2 separate regions of the Homo sapiens genome follow, and region 1 is linked to region 2. Evidence: promoter capture Hi-C in human tissues and cell types (Jung and others, 2019). All regions are on one chromosome and are shown on one strand. The core of a region is centred on a gene start or on the middle of the fragment in contact, and the rest is flanking DNA. Distances in the headings are between cores, read along the strand shown. Region 1 overlaps ASF1B (anti-silencing function 1B histone chaperone). Region 2 holds the start of PALM3 (paralemmin 3).

Region 1 (6,244 bases), core at 714-3,213, 68 kb before region 2:
TTGAGTAACTCAAGTGAGAAATCCTGGCTCTTCCAGTCCTAGGGCTCTCTGTGACTGATCTGCCAGCTTGCTTTCTGCCTCCTTCTGGACTCCTCTCCATGAAAAAGGGAGAATCTGCCTCACTCTCAGCAGCGTCAACTGAAAATCTGACAAAACCCCCAACCCAGCTGTGTGAGGTGGCTCATGCCTGTAATTCCAGCACTTTGGGAGGCTAAGGAAGGAGGATCTCTTGAGCCCAGGAATTTGGGCCAGCCTGGGTAACATAGCAAAACCTTGTCTCTACAGAAACATCAAAAAATTAACGGGACTTGGTGGCACGTGTCTGTGGTCCCAGCTACTCAGGAGGCTGAAGTGGGAGGATTGCATGAGCCCAGGAGGTCAGGGCTGCAGTGAGCCATGATTGCACCACTGCACTCCAACCTGGGTGAGAGAGCAAGACCCCCATCTCAAAAAAAAAAAAAAAAAAAACCACCCTAACCCCTAAGCCCCAGTTGGGTGACCCCTATTTCTCAGGGGCCCCAAGCCCCCTTTGCACTTTTATCTTCCACATCTGGAAATAGATTCTTCCACATTTAGCTGAGAAATTCAACAGACACTGGTTGAATAAGTCATAGAAGCCAGATGTTCTGACCCAGAAATAACGAAGTTGTTATGGCAGCAGAGCTCATCTTTGATTATGAACAAAGGCAAAAAGCAAACAAACAAAGGAGGCCTGGCATGGTGGCTCACGCCTGTAATCCCAGCACTTTGGGAGACCAAGGCGGGCAGATTACCTGAGGTCAGAAGTTCGAGACCAGCCTGGCCAACATGGTGAAACCCCGTCTCTACTAAAAATACAAAAAATTAGCCGGGTGTGGTGGCGGGCGCCTGTAGTCCCAGCTACTCGGGAGGCTGAGGCAGGAGAATGGCGTGAACCCAGGAGGCAGAGCTTGCAGCGAGCCGAGATTGCACCACTGCACCCCAACCTGGGCAACAAAGCAAGACTCCATCTCAAAAAAAAAAAAAAAGAAAAAGCCAGGTGTGGTGGCTCACACCTGTAATCCCAGCACTTTGGGAGGCCGAGGCGGATGGATCACAAGGTCAGGAGTTCGAGACCAGCCTAACCGACGTGGTGAAACCCCGGCTCTACTAAATACAAAAATTAGCCAGGCATGGTGGCACGCAGCTATAATCCCAGCTACTCAGGAGGCTGAGGCAGAAGAATCGCTAGAACCCGGGAGGCAGAGGTTGCAGTGAGCTGAGATTGTGCCACTGCACTCCAACCTGGGTGACAGAGCGAGACTCTGTTTCAAAAAAAAAAAAAGAAAAAAAAAATGGCCAGGCACAGTGGCTTACCCCTGTAATCCCAGCATTTTGGGAGACCAAGGCAGGTGGATCATCTGAGGTCAGGAGTTTGAGACCAGCCTGGCCAATGTGGTGAAACCCTGTCTCTACTAAAAATACAAAAGTTAGCCAGGCTTGGTGGCAGGTGCCTGTAGTCCCAGCTATTTGGGAGGCTGAGGCAGGAGAAGCGCTTGAACCCGGGAGATGGAAATTGCAGTGAGCCCAGATTGCGCCATTGCACTCCAGCCTGGGCGACAGAGCAAGACTGTCTCAAAAAAACAACAACAAAAAAGCAGGAAGCAGACTTTTTAGCTAGTTCAGCTATACTAATTGTGTACATGTCTTTAGTCTTATCATTTATATATATATATATATATATATACACACAAACACACAGTGGAGGTATGTCTTGCACAGGGACTAGCTTGTGAAGTTAGCGCAGAGAGATAACATGGGACACAGTTGAGTTGCCTTGACATTGCTCAGAAGGTTAGGTACACACGTCATGTGTACAGCTGTGTCCTGTACTCATAGCTATGAGTTCCTGCTGTATTGGTGATTTGTGTCCCATGTATAATTCTAAAGAAAGATTATATTTAGAGATGAAATCATACACGTATGTCTCTACTTATAACACTGCAGCCAGATTTTTTTTTTTTTTTTTAAAGAGATAGGGTGTCACTATGTTGCCCAGACTGGACTTGAACTCCTGGGCTTAAGCAGTCCTCCCACCTCAGCTTCCTAAGTAGCTGGAACCACAGGTGCACATCACCATGCCTGGGCACTTCAGCAAATTTAAGATGATTCTCGACTGGGCATAGTGGCTCATGCCTGTAATCCCAGCACTTTGGGAGGCCAAGGCAGGCGGATCACAAGGTCAGGAGATCGAGACCATCTTGGCTAACACAGTGAAACCCCGTCTCTACTAAAAATAGAAAAAAAAATTAGCCGGGCGTGGTGGGGGGTGCCTGTAGTCCCAGCTGATTAGGAGGCTGAGGCACAAGAATGGCATGAACCCGGGAGGCGGAGCTTGCAGTGAGCCGAGATCGTGCCACTGCACTCTAGTCTGGGCAACAGAGTGAGACTCCATGTCAAAATAAAATAAAATAAATTAGAATTACAGGTGCACACCACCACGCCCAGCTAATTTTTTATATTTTTAGTAGAGATGGAGTCTCACTCTGTCACCCAGGCTGGAGTGCAGAGGCACGATCTCAGTTCACTGCAACCTCAGCCTCCCGAGTAGCTGAGACTACAGGGGCATGCCACCACGCCTGGCTAATTTTTTGTATTTTTTGTATCACCATGTTGCCCAGGCTGATCTCGAACTTCTGAGCTCAAGCAATCCACCCGCCTCAGCCTCCCAAAGTGCTAGGATTACAGCCATGATCCAATGATCCACCTCACCTGGCCCTATACCTATAACTCTTTTTTTCTTCCTTTCTTTCCTTCTTTCTTCTTTTTTTTTTTTTTTTTTTTTTTTTTTTTTTTGACGGAGGCTGGCTCTGTTGCCCAGGCTGGAGTGCAGTGGCAAAATCTCGGCTCACTGCAATCTCTGCTGCCTCCCAGGTTCAAGCAGTTCTTATGCCTCAGACTCCTGAGTAGCTGGAATTACAGGTGCACACCATCATGCCCAGCTAAATTTTTATATTTTTAGTAGAGATGGGGTTTCACCATGTTGCCCAGGTTGGTCTCGAACTCGTGAGCTCAGGCAATCTGCCTGCCTCGGCCTCCCAAAGTGCTAGGATTACAGGTGTGAGCTGCCGTGCCCAACCAGCTTCTGTAACTCTTGAGTCAGTATTTCTCTACAGCCGTTAGTTAATTCTCCAGTTTCTTTCCAGCCCTGGTTGAAAGAGCCATTTCAGCCCCTGTGCCTGACAGTCAACACAGTACATTTTTTCTTTTTCTTTTTTTTCCTTTGAGATAGGGTCTCTGTCGTCCAGGCTGGAATGCAGTGGCTCGATCATGGCTCACTGCAGCCCTGAACTCCTAGGCTCAAGCGATCCTCCAACCTTAGCCTCCCGCATAGCTGGGACCACCGGCACGCGCCACCACACCCAATTAATTTTGTTGATTTTTAATAGAGTCGAGTCTGCCTATGTTGCAGGGGCCCATTTATTTCGGTGAGTTTCCACATGCTCTTTGTTTAGGTTTTGCCGATTAGTATTGACCTCAGCTGGACAACATCAGGTGCTCGTGGGTACACTTTAGTCTTTTTTGTCTACCTTCCCAGGACATGAATTAAATGCACCCGTACAGGATTCTACCGGCTATGAGAGGAAAGGGCTCAAGGATATACACCAAAATGATACAACTGCTTTAGAAAGGAGAGAGCAGGGCTGGCTGGCTTTTCTGTCTTCCCCCAAAACTTGATTCCAGTTGTGTCACTACTTGTAACAAAAATAAATCAACAGGCTGGACATGATGGCTCAGACAAATTCCAGCACTTTGGGAGGCCAAGGCGGGAGGATTGCTTGAGACCAGGCTGGGCAACCAAGCAAGACCTCATCTCTAAAAACAATTTAAAAATTCCCTGGGCGTGTGGCACAAGCCTGTGGTCCCAGCTACTTGGGAGGCTAAGGCAAGAGAATCACTTGAGCGCAGGAATTTGTGGCTGTAGTGAGCTATGATTATGCCACTGCACTGCAGCCTGGGTGACGGACCGAGACCCCATCTCCAGTGAAAAAAGTCAACTTCCTCCCTGCAAATAGTAAGAGGCTAGTTCGACCAAACACCTGTGAGTTCAATGGTCACCCGTATCCTACAGACCTGCTATAGGGTTCCTGAGTGAAACCACAAAGGGACAGGCAGCCAGTGCATCAAAGAAGGGCATGGGGCTCAGGTGACAAGCCTCTGTAGTCATGACCTGGCAGCAGCATGCTTCCAAAGTTGGATGCTCTTGTGGGACACTGGACCAAGGAACAGGGCAGCTTCTGAGAGAGTTTGCTTCCTGTGAAAATCACAGCTTGTGAAACTTCCCCCAGCTGCTAGAGCTGAAGGGTTGTGTAATTTCTAAAGAGCCAAAAATAAGTTTCAAGCCTCTTGCCAAGCCTCCCTGTACCAGCATGACCTTGCCCCTGATACACTTGGACCTCCTGCAAGAGGCCATGTTGACCGGAATTTCCTGTGATTGACAGCCAGAGGTTCCATAAGCACTTTCCTTTCATCTCAATGGAGCATATTCAGGGGAGGGGGCCCTCCTGCTGGATGGGGTGCAAGAGTTAGGGTTTGAGGCTGGGCACGGTGGCTCACACCTGTAATCCCAGCACTTTGGGAGGCGGAGGCGGATGGATGACCTGAGGTCAGGAGTTCGAGACCAACCTGGCCAACATGGTGAAACCCCATCTCTACTAAAAATACAAAACATTAGCCGGCTGTGGTGGCGGGCGCCTATAATCCCAGCTACTCAGGAGGCTGAGGCAGGAGAATCACTTGAACCCGGGAGGCAGAGGTTGCAGTGAGCCGAGATCTCACCATTGCACTCTAGCCTGGACAACAAGAGTGAAACTGTCAAAAAAAAAAAGTGTTTGGAGGATCACCCCGGGATGCCACATTTGTTGACTGAGTTGCCCAAATGTCTCTAAGTAGGCATGACTTGGTGCCAGATCTGGAAGACCAGGGTGGCTGGCTCCCTGAGCAACCTCACCTTCCCCCTCCTGCAGGCTGGCTCTCCTGCCGGATTGGAATCTGCCACCCTGCCCCAGTTGTCGAGGGATCCACTTCGTTGAGTGGCACCGGTCCCTGTGTGTGAAAGAGGATGCTGCTTCCTATCCCAGCACCCAGTGGGCAGGGCCCTGAAATGACCCAACTCCCTGCCGTTCCCTTCTCAGCACGTCTGTGTCACGTGGCTCTTAATTCAGCCTCTGCCATACAGTTCACGCTCAGGCCTTGAGAGGCCCAGGTTTCCCCAGAGGTATAGTCAAGGTCACCTGTCATAGCTAGGCTTACAAGACAGAATTCCCTAATGGAGGTAGAGCTTTGTGCCCACCTCAGCATTCAAGACTGCAGTGCCTGGCACTAAGTGTCTGACAGATGGAATAATAGTCTTTTAACATATTAAGGATCTGTCTAAAATTACCACAAGGCTGGGCACAGCAGCCCACACCTGTGATCCCAACATGGTGGGAGTCCGAGGCAGGAGGATCGCTTGAGCCCAGGAGGTTGAGGCTACAGTGAGCCATGAACATCCCGCTGCACACCAGCCTAGGCAACAGAGGGAGACTGTCTCAAAAAATAAGTAAATAAAAATAAAATAGAAGATGTGGCCGGGCGCAGTGGCTCACACCTGTAATCCCACCAGTTTGGAAGGCTGAGGCGGGCAGATCACTTGAAGTCAGGAGTTGGATACCAGCTTGGCCAACATGGTGAAACCCCATCTCTACTAAAAATACAAAAACAGGCCAGGTACAGTGGCTCACACCTGTCATCCCAGCACTTTGGGAGGCCAAGGCGGGTGGATCACCTGAGGTCAGGAGTTCTAAACCAGCCTGATCAACATGGTGAAACCCTGTCTCTACTAAAAATAAAAAAATTAGCCAGCCATGATGGCAGGTGCCTGTAATTCCAGCTACTCAGTAGGCTGAGACAGGAGAATCGCTTGAACCTGGGAGGCAGAGATTGCAGTGAGCCAAGATCACACCATTGTACTCCAACCTGGGTGACAAGAGTGAAACTCCATCTCAAAAAAGAAAAAAAAAATTAGCTAGGCGTGGCAGCGGGCACCTATAATCCCAGCCACTCGGGAGGCTGAGGTATGAGAATCACTGGAACCTGGGAGGCGGAAGTTGCAGTGAGCTGAGATCGCATCACTGTATTCTAACCTGTGTGACAGAACGAGACTCCATCTCAAAAAAAAAAAAAAATACAAGAGCCTATCCCTGCCTTCTTGCTGTTGAGCTATTTCAATTAGTTAACCCTCCTA
Region 2 (5,848 bases), core at 2,169-4,668:
TTGCCCAGGCTGGAGTGCAGTAGCACCATCTCGGCTCACTGCAACCTCTGCCTCTCAGGTTCAAGCAATTCTCCTGTCTCAGCCTCCTGAGTAGCTGGGATTACAGGTGCATGGCCGGCTAATTTTTTGTATTTTTAGTAGAGTCGGGGGTTTCGCCATGTTGGCTAGGCTGGTCTCGAACTCCTGACCTAAGGTGATTTGCCTGCTCGGGCTTCCAAAGTGCTGGGTTTACAGGCATGAGCCACCAGACCCGGCACCAATTGCTTTTATATTTCTTTCTATTTGTGTATTATCTGTCTCTCTCCCCATACGAGAAAGTGAGCTGCATAATAGCATTTTCTGTTTGTCTAGTTCATCTCTATACCCAATGCCCCCATGCCTAGAATAATGCCTTATTATTATTATTATTTGAGATAGGGTCTTGCTCTGTCACCTAGGCTGGAGTGCAGTGGCGTGATTACAACTCACTGCAGCCTCAACCTCCTGGGCTTAAGCAATCCTCCTGCCTCCGCCTCCCGAGTAGTTGGAATTACAGGCATGAGCCACCATGCCTGGCTCCAACATCTAAATATTTAACAGTTATAAAATCAATCTACAAACAATTAAATAGGCTGGATGTGGTGGCTCACATCTGTAATCCCAGCACTTTGGGGGGTGGATCACTTGAGGTCAGGAGTTCAAGACCAGCTTGGCCAATATGGTGAAACCCGCCTCTACTAAAAACACAAAAAATAGCCAGGCATGGTGGCGCATGCCTGTAATCCCAGCTACTCAGGAGTCTGAGGCAGGAGAATCACTTGAACCTGGGGGGCAGAGGTTGCAGTGAGCCAAGATCGCACCACTGCACTCCAGTCCAGCCTGGGTGACACAGTGAGACTGTCTCAAATAAATAAATAAATAATAAATAGAATATTTTATTTCCTCCAAAAGGTGGAAATAACTCAAATGTCTATCAATGGATAAATGGATCAGCAAAATATAGTATACTCATATGATGAAATATTATTCAGCCATAAAAAAGGAATTAAGGGGGCTGGGCACGGTGGCTCATGCCTGTAATCCCAGCACTTTGGGAGGCCGAGGCGGGTGGATCACGAGGTCAGGAGATTGAGACCATCCTGGCTAACACAGTGAAACCCCGTCTCTACTAAAAATACAAAAATTAGCCAGGTGTGTTGGCGGGCGCCTGTAGTCCCAGCTACTTGGGAGGCTGAGGCAGGAGAATGGTGTGAACCCGGGAGGCGGAGCTTGCAGTGAGCCTAGATTGCACCACTGCACTCCAGCCTGGGCAACAGAGCGAGACTCCGTCTCAAAAAAAAAAAAAAAAGAATTAAGGAACGATAAATACACGCTACATGGATGAAATTTTAAAACGTGATGCTGAGTGAAAGAAGCCAAACACAAAAGACCACATAGTGTGTGAGTCTTTTGTTTGTTTGTTTGTTGAGACCGAGTTTCGCTCTTGTTGCCCAGGCTGGAGTGCAATGGCGTGATCTCGGCTCATCGCAACCTCCGCCTCCCGGGTTCAAGTGATTCTCCTGCCTCAGCCTCCCAAGTAGCTGAGATTACAGGTATGCACCACCATGCCTGGCTAATTTTGTATTTTTAGTAGAGATAGGGTTTCTCCATGTTGGTCAGGCTGGTCTTGAACTCCTGACCTCAGGTAATCCGCCCACCTCAGCCTCCCAAAATGCTGGGATTACAGGCATGAGCCACTGCGCCCGGCCTGTGAGTCCATTTTTATAGAACTATCCAGAATAGTCCGGGCACAGTGGCTGACGCCTGTAATCCCAGCAGTTTGGGAGGCCAAGGAGGATGGATCACCTGAGGTCAGAAGTTCAAGACCAGCCTGGCCAACATGGTGAAACCCTGTCTCTACAAGAATACAAAAATTAGCTGGGCGTGATGGCGGGTGCCTGTAATCCCAGCTACTTGGGAGGCTGAGGCAGGAAAATTGCTTGAACCCAGCAGGTGGAGGTTGCAGTGAGCCAAGATTGTGCCCATCGCACTCTAGCCTGGGCGATAGAGTGAGGCTCCATCTAAAAAAACAAACAAACAAAAAAGAAAAACAAAAAGTCCAGAATAGGCAAATCCATAGAGATGGACACAGATTGGTGGTTGCCAGGCACGGGAGGCAGGGGAATGAGTAGTGATCACTTCCTTTTGGGTTGATGAAAATATTCTGAACCAGTGGTGAGGATTGCATAATATTGTGAACATACTAAATGCCACTAATGGTAAATTTTGTTATGTGTATTTTACCACGATCAAAAAGTAATTTTTTTTTTTCAGACGGAGTCTTGCTCCGTCACCCAGGCTGGAGTGCAGTGGCATGATCTCAGCTCCCTGCAATCTCCGCCTCCTGGGTACAAGCAATTCTCCTGCCTCAACCTCCCGAGTAGCTAGGACTACAGGTGTGCCACCACACCTGGCTAATGTGTATCTTTAGCAGAGGCAGGCTTTCTCCATGTTGGCCAGGCTGGTCTCAAACTCCTGACCTCGTGATCCGCCCACCTCGGCCTCCCAAAGTGCTGGGATTACAGGCGTGAGCCACCGTGCCTGGCTCAAAAAGTAATTTTTTTTTTTTTAGACAGAGTTTTGCTCTTGTTGCCCAGGCTGGAGTGCAATGGTGCGATCTTGGCTAACTGCAACCTCTGCCACCTGGGTTCAAGTGATTCTTCTGCCTCAGCCTCCCAAGTAGCGGAGGTTACAGGCATGCACCACCATGCCCGGCTAAGTTTTTTTTTGTATTTAGCAGAGACGGGGTTTCACCATGTTGGTCAGACCAGTCTCGAACTCCGCCCTCAGGTGATCCACCCACCTGGGCCTCCCAAAGTGCTAGGATTACACATATGCACCACTGTGCCTGTTCTTAAAAAATAATTTTAAAAAATGTTATCTGCCAGATGTGGTGGCTCATGCCTGTAATCCCAGCACTTTGAGAAGCCGAGGAGGGAGGATTGTTTGCGCCCCGGAGTCTGAAACTGCAGTGAGCTATGATCGCACTACTACATTTTAGCCTGGGCAACAGAGTGAGACCCCCATCTCTAAAAAAATAAAACAGTCTCCAGCCTGTGTGCTATGCAATGGTGCTCTCCTGTGGGTGAGTCTTGGCAGGCAGTCAGACTCAAGATGATTGGGGTGCCAAGTAGAAATGCCATTCTCTGGTGGCAGGGGGAGTCACCGACTCAGTACTCTCACCCCCACGCTTGACCACGCGTGTGTGAAAGTGTTTTCCGGGAGGCAGCTGAGTGCAACAAAGAGGCCAGAGGCTGGTGAATAATTTATCAGGACAGCTGATAGTACCTCCCCAGAACTGCCCTCCAGCCCCCAGCCCCCCTCTCTGGTGTGCCTACCGCCTCCCTGGCCCAAACCCGCTGGACCTGCTCTCCCGGTGCCCGCCCGCAGCCCCCCCCCACTCCAGGCAGCCAAGTCACAGCCTCCGGGGCACCTTCAGGCAAGCGGGTGGTGGGTCCAGAACTCGGAGACCAGAAAGTGAACTTCTGGGCAGAGATGGCCCTGCAGAGCCAGGTGTGGTCTCTGGCCACACCCATGTAAGTGTCTGGGGGGTCAGGGGGGCTGGTGGGCAGGGCCTTGGGAGGGGCTCATGGGGGATGCTGGCCTTGTCTGGGAGCCGAGAGCTCCAGTGGTCTCTCCTAAGGGGACCCGGGGAGTGGAGGGGTTGGCTAGCCAACCCCATAGGCTCATCAGTGTCACCCTTCCTTAAAGAGTCAAGGGGTGGGAGAGAGATATAGGCTCCCCCTGCCCCTTCCTCTTCGGGGATTTTCCGCTGCCAGGGCTGAGAACCCAAAGTCCAGCCAGGGGGTGGGGCTACTGCTGTGGTGCAGGGAGTGGGGAAGGTCAGGGTCACTGGGTTCCACGTTTTGCCCCTAAAGTCAGTGTCCAAGGTGGGAGAAAAGGCTTGAGATCCAACAGAAGTTAAAAGCTCCCAGCCTGAGAAAGACAATGGCAACATTGCAAGGATGACCTCCTTCATGAAATGGCCACCAACTCTTGCGGGTGGCCAGAAGCCCAGGCCGCCTACGTTGTTCTTCCAGAGTTAGTTAGAGATAAGCAAGATGGAATGGGGTGTGTGAAGTCTTTTCATAGCTGAGGGGTGAGAGTTTTTTAAGGTTAAAAGGGTAGAGGGGGCTTCAGAGGTTTGGAAAGAGTTTTGGAAAAGGGGCTTCCCCCCACACTAGGGACCCCAATTCGGTTCCTCACCCTTCTAGGTCCTCCATTGCATTATTCACCAACTACAAACCTGGTTGCTTAGCAATGGGAACCCGATCCCCCCCAGCAAGGAAGAGGCAGGGAGATTACATCTTGGGGGTGGTACAGGAGACCACGGGACTTCAGCCCTCCCCCAGGGGCAAACCTATAAGCACAGAATCTGGGCTTCCTTTGGGATATCTTGCAAAGCATGACTTCGTGGCCGGGCACGGTGGCTCACGCCTGTAATCCCAGCACTTTGGGAGGCCGAGGCGGGCAGATCACCTGAGGTCAGGAGTTCGAGACCAGCCTGGCCAGTATGGTGAAACCCCATCTGTACTAAAAATACAAAAATTAGCCGGGCTTGGTGGTGCACGCCTGTAATCTCAGCTACTCAGGAGGCTGAGGCAGGAGAATCACTTGAACCCAGGAAGCGGGGGTTGCAGTGAGCTGAGATTGAGCCATTGCACTCCAGCCTGGGTGACAGAGCGAGACTCCGACTCAAAAAAAGAAAGAGCATGACTTCAATTCCTTGCCCCAAACAGCATTCAGGGTCTCCAGGCTGCTCTCTTAGCTACCTTGATGGGGATTCCTAGACCTGCACCCCCACCCCCCTCGCCAGCTGTGTTCTCAGTATTTTGGATCTGATAGCTTCAAGTTCTGATCTTGGCTCCATGACCTTGGACACTGCTGCCACTTCTCAGAACCTCAGTTTTCCCATCCATAAAATGGACACATTCATATAGCTTACCTCCTAGAGTCGTTGGGAGGATTCAGTGAATTACATTGCACCTGGCACGTGTTACGGGCTAGCTAATGGTTGGCTGATTTTGTTCTTAGCTGGAATGTCAACTCAGCAAAGAGTTGACTCCACTGTGTCATGATAGAGGCAGGGAGGGGGAGGCAGAGGTGGCTGTGGGAACCTAGCGGAAACCCCGTGGGGCACTTAGAACACTATATGCTATATATAGTATATATATATCATATATATAGCACTATAAGTGCTAATAGCCTTCACGTTGTGGCCACAGAAGATCTGGAAGGTCCTAGCTGGAGTTCAGGCAATGAGGCTTACCCAGTAGGGTGACTGTTCAAATTAATAAATGTTTGAGGGTTTGATCAGCGCCCGTCCATGCCGGTGGAGATGACAGGCAGAGAGACATCGCTTTCTAGATACTGGCCTGTGACACGTGGTCAACATAGCAACATAGTCAGGGGTGCCCAATGCATGTCTGTGTTGATAAGGTTGGTGTGACACTGACTGTCCCTAATCATCCTGCAGTATGACAGTCACCCTCCAGCTTCCACGGGAGCCTAAGTGGGTCCAGAGGCCACTCTGGAGGCTGAGAAGTAGAGATGTTTTGAGGAAGACAATGACAGGGGAATCTCGAGTTAAACCTTAAATGGCAAGTCCCCCTCCTCCCAGCTCAGAGTCCAGTCCTAGGCAGAGTGACCCAGTGATCCTTGTCCCCAGGGAGGGGGGTTAGCAGGTGGAGGAGGCAGCTCTGGGGTTACCATGGCAACAGTGGGAGGGCCACAGACTCGCTTGCCCCCCCAGCGCTTGAGAAATTCTGGGTAGGAGCTGAGGTCCAGAGAGGGTGTGGGACTGGGAAGAGAAAGAGGCACACAGCCTGTT

Evidence for each region. The method cuts DNA at HindIII sites, captures the fragments that hold promoters and counts their contacts. A contact is called where the count stands out against the background at its distance.
Region 1: a fragment that was not itself captured here is called in contact with the fragment with the promoter of PALM3 in region 2 in 3 of the 25 tissues and cell types used here (liver, lymphoblastoid cells and thymus).

What each region holds. Positions count from the first base shown.
Region 1 is chr19:14,126,249-14,132,492 of GRCh38, reverse strand. All of the region lies in intron 1 of ASF1B (anti-silencing function 1B histone chaperone), which reads left to right. Among named protein-coding and RNA genes, the nearest start is that of ASF1B, 7.2 kb to the left of the region's middle. RefSeq lists an enhancer at 3,819-3,928. The HindIII fragment of the contact is 8,412 bases long and covers 1-6,169 here.
Region 2 is chr19:14,059,646-14,065,493 of GRCh38, reverse strand. PALM3 (paralemmin 3) reads left to right here and starts at 3,418. Exons shown (of 7, transcript NM_001145028.2): 1 at 3,418-3,554. The coding sequence starts at 3,514. RefSeq lists an enhancer at 2,923-3,477. The HindIII fragment of the contact is 26,422 bases long and covers 1-5,848 here.